Regions from separate parts of the Homo sapiens genome. Here region 2 is linked to region 1. The links are contacts of gene promoters, found by promoter capture Hi-C in human tissues and cell types (Jung and others, 2019). All regions are on one chromosome and are shown on one strand. The core of a region is centred on a gene start or on the middle of the fragment in contact, and the rest is flanking DNA. Distances in the headings are between cores, read along the strand shown.

What was found. The method cuts DNA at HindIII sites, captures the fragments that hold promoters and counts their contacts. A contact is called where the count stands out against the background at its distance.
Region 2: a fragment that was not itself captured here is called in contact with the fragment with the promoter of UBA3 in region 1 in 1 of the 25 tissues and cell types used here (dorsolateral prefrontal cortex).

What each region holds. Positions count from the first base shown.
Region 1 is chr3:69,079,037-69,081,910 of GRCh38, forward strand. It overlaps UBA3 (ubiquitin like modifier activating enzyme 3), which reads right to left and starts at 1,329. Exons shown (of 18, transcript NM_003968.4): 1 at 1,298-1,329; 2 at 1,076-1,117. The coding sequence starts at 1,317. RefSeq lists silencers at 808-1,037, 1,158-1,247, 1,368-1,437. The HindIII fragment of the contact is 6,628 bases long and covers 1-2,874 here.
Region 2 is chr3:69,669,884-69,673,070 of GRCh38, forward strand. No RefSeq gene overlaps it. Among named protein-coding and RNA genes, the nearest start is that of MITF, 68 kb to the right of the region's middle. The HindIII fragment of the contact is 3,231 bases long and covers 87-3,187 here.

The DNA of each region.
Region 1 (2,874 bases), core at 79-2,578:
TTTACAAAAGGGACCAAGAAGTATTGCCTAGCAATAAAAACCATACGTTTTGATGTCAGAGTTGTGTTGGGTTCCACAATTAACAGCACTGTGACCTTGAGCAGATTACTTAATAGACATAAACCTCATCTGCAGGCCGTTCATAGCTACTTCTTTCAGCCATGAGGATATAGATAATCACACAGAAGACTCAGTACAGTACGTGGGATATGGTAAGCAATGTTTAATTGTGATTTCATGTAAAAGTGGGAGGGAAATAAAAGGCAGGAAAGAATGTGAAATTAAGTTTGTCATCCCGGTCCTCTTGCAGCTGAAATTCAACTGAGGGACACACATAAAGATCAAAGCACTGCTACTGGGAATCGGCACGGAAATTTACAAACTCACCATAACCAATGCAAGAGTATTTTTTCCCTGCCCAGGCAGGGAGGGGAGTAAATTATGTGGCGCTGGCCAGGTTAGAAAACACTTCGATTAAATCTGTCTCACCAGCATAGAATTAAGCATCTGATAAGAAATAGGGTGTGTAGTAAAAGGGATAAATAGGCTGTTTGAAGTCAACAACCTCTTTCCAGATCTTTTAAGAGCCAATTATTCTGCCAAAATGACTGGAGTGCTTAGTACAATACCTGACATGTAGAGTTATCATTAAAAGTTTGCAATTAGTACTACTGTCTCAGTGTTTGCAAAAGGCCACAAAACGGTCTTGTGTCCTTTTCCTGTGTGTTTAAGGTAGATTGCCTTTTCACAGGGTCACTGCTCTGACAATTTGGGATGGAGGAAGAGGAGTGCACAAGGGTCCTTCCTCAAGACCTTTACGTCAAGCACCCCGGAGGGCCCCTGCAGGAGCTGGGGCAGTACAGCCTGGCCCCGACGCCCGCACCGGGCAGATACCGGGAGCGGCCCGCCAGGCCCCCGGGGCTGCGGGGCGGGGATCAGGGGATGAGGCAGCGCGGCCTGCGCTCCGGGTGTCCCCCTCCCAGCCCCCCGGGCCCGCTGCGGCTGGTCCCCTAGGCCTGGGGTGGGGGGAGGCGGGGGTCCCCGGAGAGGGCCCCGGCCTCCCGGCAGCACTAACTTCTCAGCCAGCAGCTCCTCTATTCTCCTTCTTTTCTTCTCCCTAAAAGAGAGAATAAAAGAAGGGTCAGCATCGCGCTACACACTGGGCGCCGCGAGGGGAGGGGGGCGAGGGGACGGGGCGGGGGGTGTGGGGACCCCGGGTGGCGGCGGCAACCGCCCACCGCCGCGCTCTCTCACAACCCAGCCCAGCCCGGCGCGTCTGCAGAGCCCCGGTACTTACGGCTCCTCGCCATCCGCCATATTGTTCTCCGCCTCTTCCCAGGTGCCCACGCGCGGCAGGGCGGGGAGGAGCGGGACTGGCAAAGCGGGGAGGGGCGGGGCTGGCGAAGCGGGGAGGGGCGAGGCCAGAAACACAACCGGCAGGGAGGTGCGAGGTTGACTGCGGCTGGGCTCCCATGGGCTTTAAAGTCTTGCCCTGTAATTATAATCTTAATTACCTACGCTTAATTAGGTGAATCTTATACCGTGCATAATGTTGCTCTGCAGCGTGAAAATGTAGACAATACATTATGCGTTTACACAAACTATATGTTAATACGTAATTATACAAAATATTGGTATATTCTATGAAAAATTCGTGAAGAACCCTCCCAGTATGCCAGAGCTTTCCTCTGGGGGCAAAGATCAAGGAAATTTTCACTTTCTGCTTTTCAGGATGGTTCCAAAGTCTTTGCCTTTATAAGTACTCACTTGAATAATAAATTTATCTAAATCCGTTTACATTGGTGGGGTGGGAGATTATTATTTTCTTTGAACAAATCAGCATTAATATTTTCATGTCACATTCTGTTAGATAAGTTCAGCGGAAACAAAATGATTAAAACTTTTCCTGAGATAAATGTGTATATTTAGATACAAAGAAAAAAGTATAAAGGAAAACAATCACAAAAATCAAAGAATAACTGAGAACACCCATAATCCTATCACCTAAAGATAAATTGTGATAAAAGTTTCAATTATTTTCTTCTAGAGTCAGAAATACAAATATACACTGTGAATCTGGATGGCTGGATAGAGGGAAATGATCATGTTCAAAAATGTATGTATATACACGTACACACACATCTCCTTCTATGGAGTGGGACAAGAATGATATTTGGAATCAAAAGTAACTGATTTTAAATTCTTCTCAGTTGTGAGCTACGAAACCCTTAGACACTTCTATTTCTTCATTTATAAAGTGGGCATAACACTATTCACCTTGTAAGACTGATAATTAAGTAAAATCCAGAGTGGCTCTCAAAATACAGTTCCTGATCAACATCACTTGGGAAGTTTTTTTTAACACAAATTTTCACCCCTCACCGCCCCCACCACGCTCCCCACCGCCCCCCCGCCACCCCACCCTTCAGCCTTCTGCAAAGCCTGGGGTGATTCTCCACTGGTAAAGTTTGAGGGCCACTGAAATGGAGTACATAAAGCCTGATGGGTACTCAGTAAATGTAGCTGCTGTTACTACACTGTGATATTTAACCTCCTCTTGTCCTAGTTTTCAGTGAACCTTAAGGAAAGCTTGTCCTTTATGGTCCCCCAATTAGGTTCAGTTCAATAGCATTCACTGAGCTGAAAGTCAATGCCAGGCAGTGAGCGTGGGAATAGAGTTCACAGTCCCTATCAAGAGATACCAGCCTCCTTCTGCATCACATGTCTCAGCGTCAACTATGAAACTACTTTTTCTTGCCCAGACAACTCCACAGATGGTTTCACTGAGGATTTAACCTCAGTGCTTATCAAAATGGGCTCCTGTAGCCTGAACCCCCAACAATACTGGATACCCTTTGATTAGTGGTAGTGAGC
Region 2 (3,187 bases), core at 452-2,951, 590 kb after region 1:
TGGTGCCTTTGCATTTGCTGTTCCTCAGCCTAGAATGTTCTTCTCCCAGATCATATCACCAATTTCTCATTCTTTTTTTTTTTTTTTGAAACAAGTTCTTGCTCTGTCGTCCAGGCTGGAGTGCAATTGCTAGATCATGGCTCACTGTACCCTTGACCTCCCTGGGTCAAGTGATCCTCCCAAGTAGCTGGGACCACAGGCATGCGCCACCATGTCCAGCTAATTTTTGGTAGAGTCTGGGTTTTGCCCTGTTGCCCAGGCTGGTCTCGAACTCCTAGGCTCAAGCAATCTGCCTGCCTTCACCTCCCAAAGTGCTGGGATTACACCACATCTGGCCATTTCTCTTTCGCATTATCATTCAGGATTCACCTCAGAAGTCAACAACTCTAAAAGGCTCAGCCAGACCACCTCCATTTGCCTGTGCAATTCATTACCCTTCTTTATTTTCTTTATAACAATGATCACTTCTGAAACTTGTACTATTTGTATATATGTTTCTTGTGTGCCTGTCCTTGCCAGAATGCAAGCTTCATAGAGGCAAGGACTTGGCTTCCTTTCCACTGGATCCTCAATTCCTAGCACAGGACCTGAGATATTTGTTAAATAAAATAGTGTTATTTTGTAATATATATGTAAATATATGTATATATTATGTATAAAAGCACAGTTCATGAGACATAATTTAAAATAGACAGACATATAAACAGAAGGTGGTATGAAAAATAAGTAGGAATAGTTTTATATTCAGGATAAGTAAAACTGGGGTTCTAGCCAGAACTGGTAAACTCTAAATTTCTTCTTCTAACCACTTGAATATTTTTTTCGTTGATCAGTACTCGGTTATCAGGAAAGGAAGATACCAGGCAAATAGATTGTAATTTAGTGCCTGGCACACATGAATAAAAGCAAAATCTAATGATATTGGAAATTCATGAGGCAAAAAGAAGTGATGAATCACCACCGTTCCATCCATAATTTTTTTTTTTTAAGAGATAGGGTCTCCCTATGGTGCCCACTGGTCTCGAACTATTGGCCTTAAGCAATCTGCCTGCTTTGGCCTACCGAAGTGCTTAGATTACAAGTGTGAGCCACCACACCCGGTCATTTTTTTTAATGATTTTTAGTGATGCAAATTCATTTCTATTACCTTAATCTATAATTATGATTGATTTATTGAAATAAACCCACTGGGATTTTTAGAAAAGCAATTCAAAATAATCATTTAATTTTGCTTTTCCAAAGGACTGAAACAATTAGTGTCAGCTGCAGTGTGCACTTATAAGAAGTGAAGAGTGCCTATATTTTTGCATATATTTGCTATGGCTTTTGAAAACAACTTTTGGGAAGATGGATGAGGGGAAGGAAGGTAGAAACTAGCAAAACTCTTTGTCAGACATTGCCATCTGCTGGTATATTCCCAAAATGCAACCCTGGACTCATTTCTTGTCAAAAATATAATTTAGGTGTTCCAAATTCCTCTGTTATTCAAATTCATGTAAAATCTGGGATTCAGATTCAAATTATGTTTGAAAATTAATGTATTATAAGTAAAATTTCAAGGTATTAGAACAACTGAATGAACGGTTTCTCTATTGTGCTGAAAAAATTCCAATTCCAGATTTTTAAAAAATCCTCATTAAAAAAGATCATCGTTATCGTTTAATCGTCTGCATGGGAATAAAGCAGCAAATTAAAGAGCCTGGAGCTCTACCCTCTCTGCAGTTTACTAGATTAGGGCTAAATTAGCTTAATTTGCTTGGTCAAGTGCCCATCACAGCACTCTCCCTTCACTCCATGTGGAGCTAATAAGAACTGACAAGTCTAAAATATGAGACTTGCCTTTGCTCAGCACTAACCCAGAGCCTGATGCTGACCATAGCCTTTAGTGTGTCCTAGTCTGCATCTACTGCAGACATGGTCGGCAGCAGCACAGGACTTGGCTGGTGTTCAGGCCACAGAGAACTGTGAAGGGAGCTGACTGTTCCTGTGATGATGGGTCACAGCACAACAGCAAAGGGAGTTGACTGTTCCTGTGATGATGGGTCCACAGATGGGGAGGCAAAGCCGGGAATTGTACCTGATGGCCATGCTGGCTGCCCTTCTATGGGATAAGCCCCAGCCAAACGGGTTGGCGTGAATATTCTGGACTGGACTTTTCCCGATTTCAGATCTTCCCTGAGTTGGAAAGCAAATGCACTTTCCCCAGGGTTAATGGGGTTTTACTAACAGCTGTGATGATCTTCCTTAAAGTTAGCATCCTGCAGTCTTTACAAGAGCTTGCTTTCTATTTTAATTTAAGTGTGTGTGGGTTTCAATTGACTGTCACCGCTTGGGATGCCATAGGGTGTTCGATGGAGTCTACTTAAACAGATGTGAGTTCCAACATACCTAGCTCCTTATCAGTTAGGTGACCCCATGCAAGCTACTGATGGTGGTGACCCTGAGTTTTGTACTCAAGATTTAACTTCAAGTTCATATATAACCTCATGTGTGGACTTAGGAAGTTCATGAACACCCCCTTGAAAGTATATGGGTTGTGTATGAGTTTGTATCATGTGGTTATACACATTTTTGTTCCTAAGGCATCCCTAAGCTTTCATCAGATTTCTAAAGTGGCCTATAACTTCTCTCCATGCTCCCAAAAAGTTCAGACTTTCTGTGATTCTGCTATTAAATGATGATACTAATGGCATAGAATTCACAGGGGTTGTTGTGAGGATAATTTAAAGTGGGTAAAAAATCACAGGCAGTGTGCCTGATACCTGTAAATATTAGTTTAGATGAGGGTATCAGAGCAGAGGTCAAAACTATTACTAAACTTAAGAGCCACAGTAAGTGTAATTTGGACTTGCTGTGAATGAACTTATTGGGAATCACTTAATGACTAGCAGCACCCTTGTGACCCACTGCAGTGTAATTCCTTCAATTGGTCTGATGATGTTATTGGTATTATCCTCACTGGGCCTGATTTTCCTGAAGGGAACTGAGCTGTGTGACCTTCGATGAGTTCAGATTTTTACCAACAATCTTCGATTATCAAAAGCAGAAGAAAATGCTTCTGTGTGAAATCAAAGGCTTTCAGGTAAATATAAGGGTTTAGAGAGTACATCTTCTATTATGTACTTAGTGAGGAAATTAGATAATGTTAAGGTAGATGCTTGATAAACATTCATTCCCATTCACTATT